Regions from separate parts of the Homo sapiens genome. Here all the other regions are linked to region 3. The links are contacts of gene promoters, found by promoter capture Hi-C in blood cells and fetal thymus (Javierre and others, 2016). All regions are on one chromosome and are shown on one strand. Each heading gives the region's core, a stretch centred on a gene start or on the middle of the fragment in contact. The rest is flanking DNA. Distances are from core to core; before and after follow the strand shown.

Region 1 (3,536 bases), core at 38-2,537, 260 kb after region 3:
TAAGTGAGGATTAACAGCATATTGAAAACCACATAAGAAGCCCAGAAAAATGTTGTGGAGTCTAACTCTGACTATTTACGTTTACATATTGACTTCAAGGGCAGAGTACTGCCATGAATGCATAAGCAGTAGAGAACACACCTTGCTTTTTCAGCAACAGACGGAACTTCATGGGCCAAGCAAGCCCACACACTCTCACACACTCACTGTTGGGGTACACCAGGCCTCAGGGGCACCTGTGGACTCTGAGCTTGGGCAAACATATCACCTTGATTAAAAGATTAATCCATAAATTTGTTTGGGAATATTTTTCAGCCCTAACAAGGAAGGAGATTCCATCGCATGCTACAACATGGATGAACCTTGAGGATATCATGTCAAGTGAAACGAGCTGGTCACTAAATGACAAATGCTATATCATTCCACATGCATGAGGTCCCTAGAGGAGTCAAATCCAGAGACAGAAAGTAGAATGGTGGGTGCCATGGGCTGGTGGGAGGGAGGATAGGGAATTCGTGTTTAATGGGGACAGAGTTTCGGTTTTGTAGAGTTCTGGAGATGGATGGTGGTGATGGCTTCACAACAACGTGAAGGTATGTAATACTGATGAACTCAATAATCAAAGTGGTCAAGAGGGTAAGTTTTACGTTATGTGTATTTTACCAGAAAGGAAACAAAACCAGTGTGTATATTCACTCAACAAACGCTTAGTGAATGACTACATGTGTCAAGTTCTATGCTGGGAGCTGGAGATACAAAGATGGAAGAGACATGGCACCTGCTGCAGAAAATGTCATAATGTTTCCATGAAGACATCGTCAATTTTGGTGGGTCATTTTAATGTTTTCTTTTCTTTAAAATTTCCCTTTTTGATATGTTTTGGTGTGGTCTCAGAAGCAGTCTAACTTTATAATGATTATTCAGCAGGAATAATATGAACGATAACAAAAACCACACTTTGAAATAGTAAATAACTTTTAGTTCCTTCACAATGAACCAGGCTGACTGCTGTAACTGTAAGGGTAATAGATCTTCATTAAAGTCCCTCATTTCTAGCACAATAGGGTTTTGCCTGCTATTCTTTTCCCTGTGAGAGATGGAGGAGGGAAAGAAGGGAGGGATAGGGTGGGAGGGAAGGAAGGAGGGAGGGAAGGAGGGAGGGAGGGAGAAGGGAGGGAGGGAAGGCGTGAAGTGCTTATCATGATGAGTCCAACAGTAAAATCAATAGGTGTTGTCCACTGACTATCAATTAAGGCACAATCAAGGCCTCTGGGTTTTGATTTTGATCAGGCTGCTGGCAGTTTAGTGGGAACTCACCAAATAAACAATAATTCCAGACAATTGTCCCCCTTGTCATGATTCAGGAGCGTATTTTCAAATGAGGTGTAAATGAGGACTTTGTTTTGTATGTGGAGACAGCAGGGGCAAAACAAAACCACTGGAAAGACCCAGGTAGGTGGGAAACAAAGGAACGAAACTGTCCAGTGCGAGCACCTGCAGCTCGTCCCTGGCAGACGCTTGAAAGGCACTTGGTTATTTACCAACTTACTGTGGGATAGGGGTGGGAGCAGAATACAGTGTACTTTCGGATGATGCCGTTCAGCTTGAGAGGGGGAAGCCAGGACACAAAGACCATGGAGGCTGAGGCCGCCGCTGCCTTCACACCCGCGGGAGGACCTGGAACTGGAAGAGCCGTGTGTTTAGTCACAAGGTGGGGCCTCAACTTGGGCTTGCGGACCCACGCTTCCCAACATGACCCCACTCCGCACTTACTGTTCAGCTCTTTCAGGATGAGCGTTATGGGTTCCGCTGTGTCCCCCCAAATGCATATGTTGAAGTCCTAACCCCCAGGACCACAGAATGACACTGTAATTGGAGGTAGGGTCTTTACAGAGGTAATCAAGTTAAAATGAGTTTGTTAGGGTGGTCCCTAATCCAGTACTTCTGGTGTCCTTATAAAAAGGGCCAGTTTGGACACAGAGACAGACATGTATAGAGGGAAGATGATGTGAAGACACAGGGAGAAGAGGGCATCTATAAGCCAAGGAGAGAAGCCCAGGACAGATGCTTGTCTCAAAGCTCTTAAAGAGAACCAGCCCTGCAGACACCTTGATTTTGGACTTCTGGCCTCCAGAACTCAGAGACAGCAAATAAATTCCTAATGTTGGAGTCTGTGGTCCTTTGTAGCTCTAGGACCTAATACAGTCAGTTCTAGTCCCTCTTGTCCTGGGGAGTCTTCCCAACCCATTTCAGCCCCTGGCAACTTCCTGCCTCTGGATAACTGGAGAATTAACTTCTGGATCAGTCTCATTTCTGCTGCAGTTTTTGGCTTTGAATGTACTGGGGATGAACCTTTTGGATCCTGAATTTGAGAAGCATGAGGGTGAACTACCTCAGCCATCAGAGACCCCACCCTCCCTCACCCTAGTCATTTTGTAATGGCACCACTTTGGGCTCAGGAGAGGTATGGAAATATTGTTGATGAATAGGGATTATTGGGTCAAAGATTCACAGTATCCATGTAAGACAAACTCTCCTCTGTAAACCAGCTAAGAAGGCAGAACATGGTGGCAGCAATACTAAGCATGATTTGGGAGTGAGATTGAAGGCATGTCCCACTCCTCTTGTTCTTTTATTTTCCAGGTTGAAGAGGTGAGGGCGGGTGAGATGGCCAAGACAAGAAGATGCCAAAATGTCAAAGGTGCCAGTGAGGAAGGCATCAGAGCTCTTGCTTTGTTTCTCATTAACCTCACTGTCCATATGGAGGGCAACCACATTGATGGAGACATTGAAATTCAAACCAATAGAAGTCCCTTGCAAGCCCCTGGAGAAATCTGTGAGTCTTTTACTGCTTTGATGGCAATGCAACTGCTCAGTAAATTGTTTTGGAGTTGAATGTGCTTCTCATAATCGTCACCTTGACTCTTCTAAGTCTGCATAACAAAACCAAGAGCTCTGGTGAGAACTAACTTGGGTTGGACATAGTCACCATTTGAAAATATAAAATCTTGGTAATCCATTTTTGGCAAGTCTTGCTAACAGTGGAAGGTCTAGAAAAGGTAACACACATAAATGATAGATCCTGGGTTAAAAAATCCCTTGAGAACAAACCTCTATCAGGTGAGGGTAATGTCTAAGACATCCACAACCTAGTTCAGAGCTGCCAGGGTTCCTCCTGAACAACAAGGGCAGAGTGAACGTTTCCTGGGGATTTTAATCCTAGTAGACACCCCAGCTTAGCCAACACTCTCAGTCCTTTCCATAAAGCCCCTGGTTGGTGTTCACCACAGTGAACATTCTTGCTGGACAGCTTCTCTTTAGGAGGCCAAGTAGTTTAGCACCAACCAGTTGAATGGCTGCTGAAGAGGAGTCAGTTGTATTTGTTTCCAACCTGTTTGTGACAATTGTACGTGTCATGGGTAGTACTGTAAGTTAATTAATTACGTAAACCAATGAAATTCAAGTGCAAGAGAAAGCTGTTTCTATGACAGTTAATGGGACTACTTTGGAAAGCCTTCCTTAGAGGTAAGTTAGAA
Region 2 (3,947 bases), core at 400-2,899, 350 kb before region 3:
TCTCATATTTTAAAAAGAAAATAAATATCTATGCTGACAATAAGCAAAGATAAAAACCCAGACCACTTATTTAAATTGAATTAATTTTTTCTTATATTGTTTTCCTGTAGTCAGAAACATTAACATCTTAGAAGGGTATTTGTATTTGCTCCTGTTTCATTTTATTTAAAGTATCACTGAAATGCAAAAATCACTTAGATCAATAGTACCCTATGGATGGTATCAGTTCTCTTCTAGTTTTGGCTTCAGCTGTCCCTTCAGCCTTCCATGGTTAGCAATCCAGTGGCACAGTGAGGAGAATCCCAGATATGGACTGTATGGTATCAAAATACGATTAAAAAATCTGAATGCTTTTCAATATAGGAAGCTTCTAGAAACTAAGCAGCATTGTGAATCTGTAAAAAAGAATAACTCACAAGGAAACCCCAAGTGAATAAGGAAAATCATTTTGAAGAAAAACCAAAAGAGACCAGAGAAATGGAATAATTGCATGATGATCTGAAGTGAATCGAAGTTCAAAGAGCTTGGTTTAATAGTATAAAGGAGGCCTGAACACGCAAAGGAACTGTTTCTTTTCTTTCCTTTTTTTTTTTTTTAATTAGAAAAGCAACTACACAAAAATTTGAGTGTATTTTTTTTCCAGCCACTGAACAATACACTCTCCTTTCCCCACTCTCCTCTCCTGGGCTCCCTCTCGTTTCTTTGGACTGAAATCTTCCTTTGTGGTTGTCTTTGAGTTCTTAGTTTTCTCAATGAAATGTGAAAGGTATAGGAAGAGAATGAACTGTATTGCCTGCAAAGATTCTTTGGAAATATTTACAGATTTTTTTTCTTTTTTTTTTTTTGGAGACAGTGTCTCGCTCTGTCGCCAGGGTGGAGCGCAGTGGCACTCTCACTGCAAGCTCTGTCTCCCAGGTTCAAGTGATTCTCCTGCCTCAGCTGCCGGAGTATCTGGGACTATAGGCCTGCACTACCATGTTTGGCTAATTTTTGTATTTTTAATAGAGATGGGGTTTCACCGTGTTGGACAGGCTGGTCTCGAACTCTGACCTCAGGCAATCTGCCCACTGCAGCCTCCCAAAATACTGGGATTACAGGCGTGAGCCACCATGCCCAGCCTACAAATGTTTTCTTTCAAAACTCATTTACCCGGGCCAGGTGTGGTGACTTATGCCTGTAATCCCAGCACTTTGGAAGGCCGAGGTGGGTGGATTGCCTGAGCCCAGGAGTTCAAGACCAACCTGGGCAACATAGCAAGACCCCATCCCTACAAAAAATACAAAAATCAGCCAGGCATGGTTGCGTGTGCTTGTAGTTCCAGCTACTCGGGAGGCCAAAGTGGGAGGATTGCTTGAGCCAGCACTCTAGCCCAGCCCATTGATCACGCTACTGCTCTCCAGCCCGAGTGACAGAGCAAGACCCTTTCTCAAAAACAAAACAAAACAAAACAAAAAAACCGCACCTCATTTAACTGTTAACACCTGTGCAAGCACGGCAAGTAGGTGTGAAGGGCCTGGTACATTGTAATAACAGAGAATGGCCATTAGGTGGCGATAAAAGACAAGCTTCTTGCTATGGTGTCGCTGCCCCCGAGGTCCCCTGGCTGTGAACCCGAGTCAGGGTACTGCTAGTTGACATTAGAAGGTGGGAAGAGGTATTTGTCAACCAGATGGAGGAAAATAGACAAAAACTCTACTTATAATTAATTTGTGAATTAATTAGTGTATCATTTATAAAGCTTTTATCCAAGATAACTTTATTTTGGGCCAAATGTGCATTTATTGTTTGAATGCACATCCTTGCATTATACAAAAGGAGCCTAAATTCAGTCAACAACTGATTGCATGTTGACAATTTTGATAAAGATACGGGGTCTTTTAGCCTCTAATGGGGTTCTATCTTATCAAATAAGTAAAAACAGAACTCTGATTATTGAAGGGGTTGATTATCCTTTTCTTTCGCAAGACTTTTAGTTCGAATAGAACATATGTCCAAATATTTGGAAATATATTCACGATCCTAACAAAGGCATTCCTTTCACAGTTGTCTAGGTTACTTGGCTTTTTCACTACTTTGTTTTGGAAGGACTTTCTTGGAAGTAGTAAAACTGAGTTGGGAAATCTTTAAAATGTATCAGTGCATCTGGCTGTTTTCCAAATCAGAAGTCAGGAGATTGTTCAATGATGCGGAAATGTACTCAGGTGTGGAAGATTCCAGTTGGGGAGGGGCTCAGGTGGACAGGTGTGAGTAGCATAGAGGGGGCGTGGAGTGGGGGCTTAACCTGGGGGGCTCCTGGTTCCAGTCCGGCATTCTGTAGATTTAGCACCCGGATCTTGTCAGGGGAGGTGAGAGAAACCTCCGAGGCAGACTCCCATGAATCAAGCTCACAGTCTAGGCTTACAATCAGGGTGTGGGCTTTCCTATTATTTTTATTCACTAACACTAACGGAGTGCCTGCTATGAGCCGGGCTCTGTATTAAAGGCTTCGTGTGTTGCCACAGTAACCCGATGAGGTGGATACCATCTTTATCTGGCAAGGAGGAAACTGAGGCACCGGGTTTCAATTCAGTACTTCGGCAATGGCTGAACCGAAGCTGAGATATACCTGTGTCCCACTCCAAAGCCACGAACAGCCTTCCCAACAAGCCCTTTCCTCTCGGTCCTGGACCACAGTACGGTTCCTCTACGGTGCCTGGCTGGCCGTGGGCAGTGTGCGCCTTGGCCCCAGAGCGCCTCCTCCGCCTGGCTTTGGTCCTCGCATTCTGTCTTCAGACTCGATGCCGTTCGGGCCCTGGTGCAAGGTGCCTTGCCCTTCTCACTTACTATCCACCTATTTTGTTTTCTTAGTTGCACCATCAGAGGTCTATTCCATTACCTTCATCTTCCAGTTCTTTGGGCCGCTAGCTGTGGCCGCCACCACCAGCGCCAGTTACAGAGGGAACTGGGTCACTGTCCACCCACAGGGTTCTAGAAATTGGTCAGTGGCCTCAGATCCGAAGTTTCAGGTTGCAGAGAGAAAATACTAAAACTGCCACCTGCCTTTTCCAGCCTGGTTGTCCTTGGATATATCTTGCCCACTGATGCGGAAGGACACACACACACCAATAACTCATTTGGTTCTGAGCTATCAACTGCCACGCAGTGATGTGCCAGAGTTGCAACCAGCCCCACATGGTATTTTTAGCTGAGAGAACAACTCCTTCTAGTTGAGGATGGTTTAATGAGTGCGTCTTAATCCCATGACATGAATTTTAGTTCGTTTTGTAGCAGGTCAGGTTTCTCTGTAGTCCCTGCTTTTTAAAAAATTATTTTTAATTTTAAATTAAAAATTTTGTGGGTACATAGGTGTATATATTTATGGGTTATATGAGATATTTTGGTACAAGCATGCATTTTGTTTTTTTGGGAAAGTTTTTATTTCTCCTTCATGTTTGAAGGATATTTCCACTGCATGTACTATTCTGGGGTAAGTATTTTCCCTTCAGCACTTCAAATATGCCATGTCACTTTCTCCTGGCTTGTAAGGTTTCTACTGAAAAGTCTGTTGGAGGTCCATTGTACGTTATTTGTTTCTTTTATCTTGCTGCTTTTAAGATCTTTTCTTTATCCTTGACCTTTGGGAATTTGACTATAAATGCCTCGAGGTAGTCTTCTTTGGGTTAAATCTGCTTAGTGTTCTATAACTGCCTTGTACTTGGATATTGATACCTTTCTCTAGGTATGGGAAACTCTGTTACCTTCCCTTTGAATAAACTTTCTGTCCCTACCTTTTTCTCTACCTCCTCTTTAAGGCTAATAACTATTAGGTTTACCCCTTTAGGCTACTTTCTAGATCCTGTAGGATTGCTTCATTGTTCTTTATTCTTTTTTCTTCTCTGTGTATTTTCTTATTTTTGATGCACTTTTTGTTTCAATAATTTTTGGGGTACAGGTAGTTTTTGTTTACA
Region 3 (4,003 bases), core at 844-3,343:
CCAAATAAGGTCACATTTTGAGATATTGAGGGTTAGGACTTGAATGTATGAATTCTGGAGGAAGGCAATCAGCTCAGACCATAACCCATTCTCCCCAATAGTCTTCATAGTCCCTTGGTTGGTCCCAAAGAATTGCTGAGTCTACCCAGCAAAGCCTCAGCCCAGCCCTGCACCTCCAATCCTGCCCCTCTACTTGGAGCCTCAGCACTAATTGCTGTGCTGCCAACCTCAGGCTGCTGCAGCCCTTGATGTGTCTTTGTGTTGTTAGAAAATGCAGGTCTGCTCCAGAGCCAGCCAGCAGAGCACAGGCTGATTCTCCACATGCCCTCTGCACAGCCTGGAGGACCACAGCAGGGACCCCATGGAGGCTCACACTGGGAGACCCCTTCTACACCTCCAGGCTGTGGGGGTCCAGCCCCCAACAGGGCAGGAGGCCCCTGGGGAGGGTGTGGTTTTTGCCCCTGAGAAATCACAGGTGTCTCCTAGTATAGATAAGCAAGCACCCTTCTTCCAATCTGTCAATCTGTCCTACATCGCAGATGACACTATGGCTCCAGTTCCTCACCCTGCCCTCCTCCTCCTTCTCTCCCACTACTAACCACCTGGGCAACCCTAAAGGCATCCCACGTGGGCCTTCCCAAGCGTGGCATTGGGGGCAAGGAGGAGGAGGGGAGTGAGAGAAGGAGGATGCTGTCTTCATTAGTTTGCAAATGATTTGTGTGGTCAGGATATGTAAATAAATAATTTATATACATATAAAAGAAACGAATATAACACACATATTTTATATAATATATATAATGTTCATTTCTGTCGCTCTGTGAAATATAGGTTATTTTATAATAACTCATGTATGAGACTCTGTCTTGCTGGCTGGTGTTCCCACGCTGTGGGCGAGGGTGCTGACCAGCTGGTGCTCCTGGCCAAGGCCTCTGAGGGCAGCCTGTGCTCGCCGGTGCCCATTTGGGGGCGCATGGCCTTCTGCTTGCTGTCCAAGGTGGACCTGAGGATGTGGTCGCATCGGTGACCTGGGCATGTAAGGAGGGCAGTCCAGGTCAGAGGGCGTGGGGCTGCTGAGCTGAGGAGAGAGGGTTGATGGGCTGGAGTCTGGTGGCCTGCTCTGCACAGGGAGATGAGGGGTGCTGGGGACGGGTGGCAAGACGCTTCAATCTTCTCGCCAGACCCTCTCAGTCCTGTACCGGGACTGGCAGAGTAACAGATGTGAATGTGCCTTCAGTCTGCACAACGCTTTTTTGGGACAGTTGAGGGCCCACTCTGATGCCTTGAAGACTCTTCAGAGCCTCACGATGTTGGGACTGAACAAAGGATGGAACCTCTTCCCGGAAAAGCTGAACAGGACTAAGGCAAGGAGACCTTCAACCAGGCCAGGGCCAATGCCCAGGCTCCTTCCTGGCCCCACTGTGGTTGTGAGGAGGGCACATCAGCAAGGCTGCTGGAGCCGCTCGCCTCCTTTGTTGAGGTCGTGGGGACCCATTCCCATGTCCCAGTCCATCTACTCTTATCCTTCCAGCTCAGGGTACAAGCAGGGCGACAGATATGGGATAGGGGAGAGACAGCAGAGATATTAAAGTCCTTGGGCTGAGTTTTGTGTTATAAAGGGCAAGGGAAACACAGCTCCTGGGAAAACCTGAAAGTGCGTGAGCGGGCACGCAGGTATTTTCAGAGCTCCTCTTCCCTTAGAAAAACAATCCTTCCCATTGACATTTGAAAGGTATTTTACATGCATGTAAATCTTGCACTCATTGAAAAACGCACAATGGCATCCCTGTGATGATCTTTGAAACTTTAGCTTTTACTTTTTACTTTTTTTTTTTTTTTAAAAGAGACAGGGTCTCGTTCTGCTGCCCAGGCTGGAGTGTATTACTTTTTAAAGAAATCGAGCATTTCCTTCCATCCTGGCGGAATTTGGAGCAGCGACCTAACGTGCCGTTCTCTTTTGCACCACTAGGTGGCCCCTGGTGCTCTCAGATGTCGGCCAGGCTTGCAGACAGGTGAATGCATCTCATTGGCTCCAGGGAGGCATGATGCCACCGGGCAGCTCTTTTTAAGAGAAAAGCCAGAACCGGTGGAGCAGCGACCCCTGAGCAGTGTTCTCTGTGCTGAGCGGCGGGACTGAGCTGTTGAGTTAGAGCCAACATGAGTGAGGTGAGTGATGCTTCGACCTGGAGAGGGAAACTTAGGAGTGAGAAGGGACCTCGGCTGAAGGATTAGTCTCAGGAAATGTGAGGGACTTAGCAGTGCTGAGGAACAAATTAATCCTGTAATTATTTGCTTGGAGAACTGACAGGATTAATCTCTTGGTTTGAATGGTAAGTGCAGAAATTGGTTAAGTTTGCAACTTCTACAATTAGCCTGAGGAGGAGAAAGGTTTGCTTTCTGATTGAATGGTGACTTTGAAAAGTGCTTTGGGTTTTAGAGCTCAGAAGAGAAAGCCAAATGTTTTATTCTCTTACGAAGATGCGTGTCTTTGCATGATTCCCGCGGTGATACCTTTCAGAATGTGAGTGGGCAGGTGGTCATCTGGTGAATGCAAGCCATGGAAGGGAAGGGGACAAGGTGGGGAAAGGGCTGGCCGTTGGGTGGCATTTCATGGCTCAGTTGTACAAACTACCTCTGCAGTTAATCAGAGCACCAGGGAAAGAAATGCAAAAAGTAGTAGGAACTGGGAAACATCCGTGTGTATAGATCTGTGGCTCTAAGACCGGAGGCGGCCCCGGCAGAAGAAGAGCTACAATTTTGCAAATCCAAAGTCACTTCTCTAAACTTGTTTATACAGAATGTGTTTTACTGGGGCCAACTGACAGCACGTTTGTTTTTCTAAAATCATCTTCTCCTTTTTTCTCATCTATGAAGCAGATTAGCGGTGGTACAACACCATTCTCTAATTCAACTCAATAACCGAGCCAAATGCATCTTCATTTCCTCTTGGTTGGCACTTAAATAATTACTTTTAAAGATCTTTTATCTTCTCTGTCTCTTTTTGACAGATGGATGATTCTTTTCTTGGAAGTCTAGGATAAAATTAACAACTTCAGAAATAAAATGCCTCCTCCCTGCTTTTATCTCTCTGATGGGTGATTTTTGATGTAAACATGACAAGAAGAAGAGCAAAGCACTATAAAACTTAGAAATGGGGTTTAGGACAAAGCCAGGGGTTTGAGGCAGGGAGAGACCAACTGTGGGGTGGAAGATGGGAATTCTCCCACCACCACAATCAATGGTACCTGTAACAGCAGCTAACACTTGCCTAATGGTCTGTGTGCCGACAGTGTCAGGCTGTCTCTGCATCTGTCACCTTCTTTGAACCTCTCAACAACTCCGTGCAGTGGGCACCATTATTATTCCCAATTGACAGATGAGGACACTGAGGCACAGAGATGGGAACTAAGTGGTTTGAGGTCACCAGCTAAAGAACAGTAGAGCCAAGACTTGGGCTGCAATGCTGGGTGGTTGACTGCCGGGTGAATCTTGATGTCTAAATGTGTATGGAATTTGCTGAACAGAGGGGATGGCAGAGGTTGGAGGAGGAGAGGGGAGGTGAAGAGAAAGAAAGAAAGGAGCTGGGGCTCTGAAATAGAGATGGAATGATGAGGATGAGACCTCCATTTCCCACATGCTAGGAGGAGGGGCTTTCTGCTGGACTCTACAGATATTTCAGAAGCTTCTGTGTCCACATCAGCTCACCTTGCTTGCAACAAGAAGGGATGGCTGCGTGGAGTGGTTTTTCTTTATATACAACTTATCCAATAAGAGTTTCCTATAGAAGAAGGACTTAGAAAGCAGCACAGCACTGAGGGGTGGCCTCTCGGGTCAAGTCAGCTACCCTGGGATTCTGGCTCAGTCATGCCGTCACTTGCTGAGGCTTCTGGCCAGCAAGGTGCTCATGAGCTCTCCAGGATGCTCAGCTCTGCTGGGCTCACTCAACTGTGCGGGTCTCCAGGGAGAAAGCGCGTGTTCCAGAGCTCACCTGTGATTAGGGTCA

Evidence for each region. The method cuts DNA at HindIII sites, captures the fragments that hold promoters and counts their contacts. A CHiCAGO score of 5 or more calls a contact.
Region 1: a fragment that was not itself captured here is called in contact with the fragment with the promoter of PCP4 in region 3 in 7 of 17 cell types (naive B cells, M1 macrophages, M2 macrophages and 4 more); the score reaches 9.3 in naive B cells.
Region 2: a fragment that was not itself captured here is called in contact with the fragment with the promoter of PCP4 in region 3 in 1 of 17 cell types (M1 macrophages); the score reaches 5.3 in M1 macrophages.

Annotation. Positions count from the first base shown.
Region 1 is chr21:40,122,646-40,126,181 of GRCh38, forward strand. DSCAM (DS cell adhesion molecule) reads right to left here. Exons shown (of 33, transcript NM_001389.5): 20 at 1,550-1,683. Among named protein-coding and RNA genes, the nearest start is that of MIR4760, 88 kb to the right of the region's middle. The HindIII fragment of the contact is 6,076 bases long and covers 1-3,536 here.
Region 2 is chr21:39,516,941-39,520,887 of GRCh38, forward strand. No RefSeq gene overlaps it. Among named protein-coding and RNA genes, the nearest start is that of SH3BGR, 67 kb to the left of the region's middle. The HindIII fragment of the contact is 173 bases long and covers 1,564-1,736 here.
Region 3 is chr21:39,865,345-39,869,347 of GRCh38, forward strand. It overlaps PCP4 (Purkinje cell protein 4), which reads left to right and starts at 2,094. Exons shown (of 3, transcript NM_006198.3): 1 at 2,094-2,166. The coding sequence starts at 2,158. RefSeq lists a silencer at 3,992-4,003. The HindIII fragment of the contact is 4,692 bases long and covers 1-3,680 here.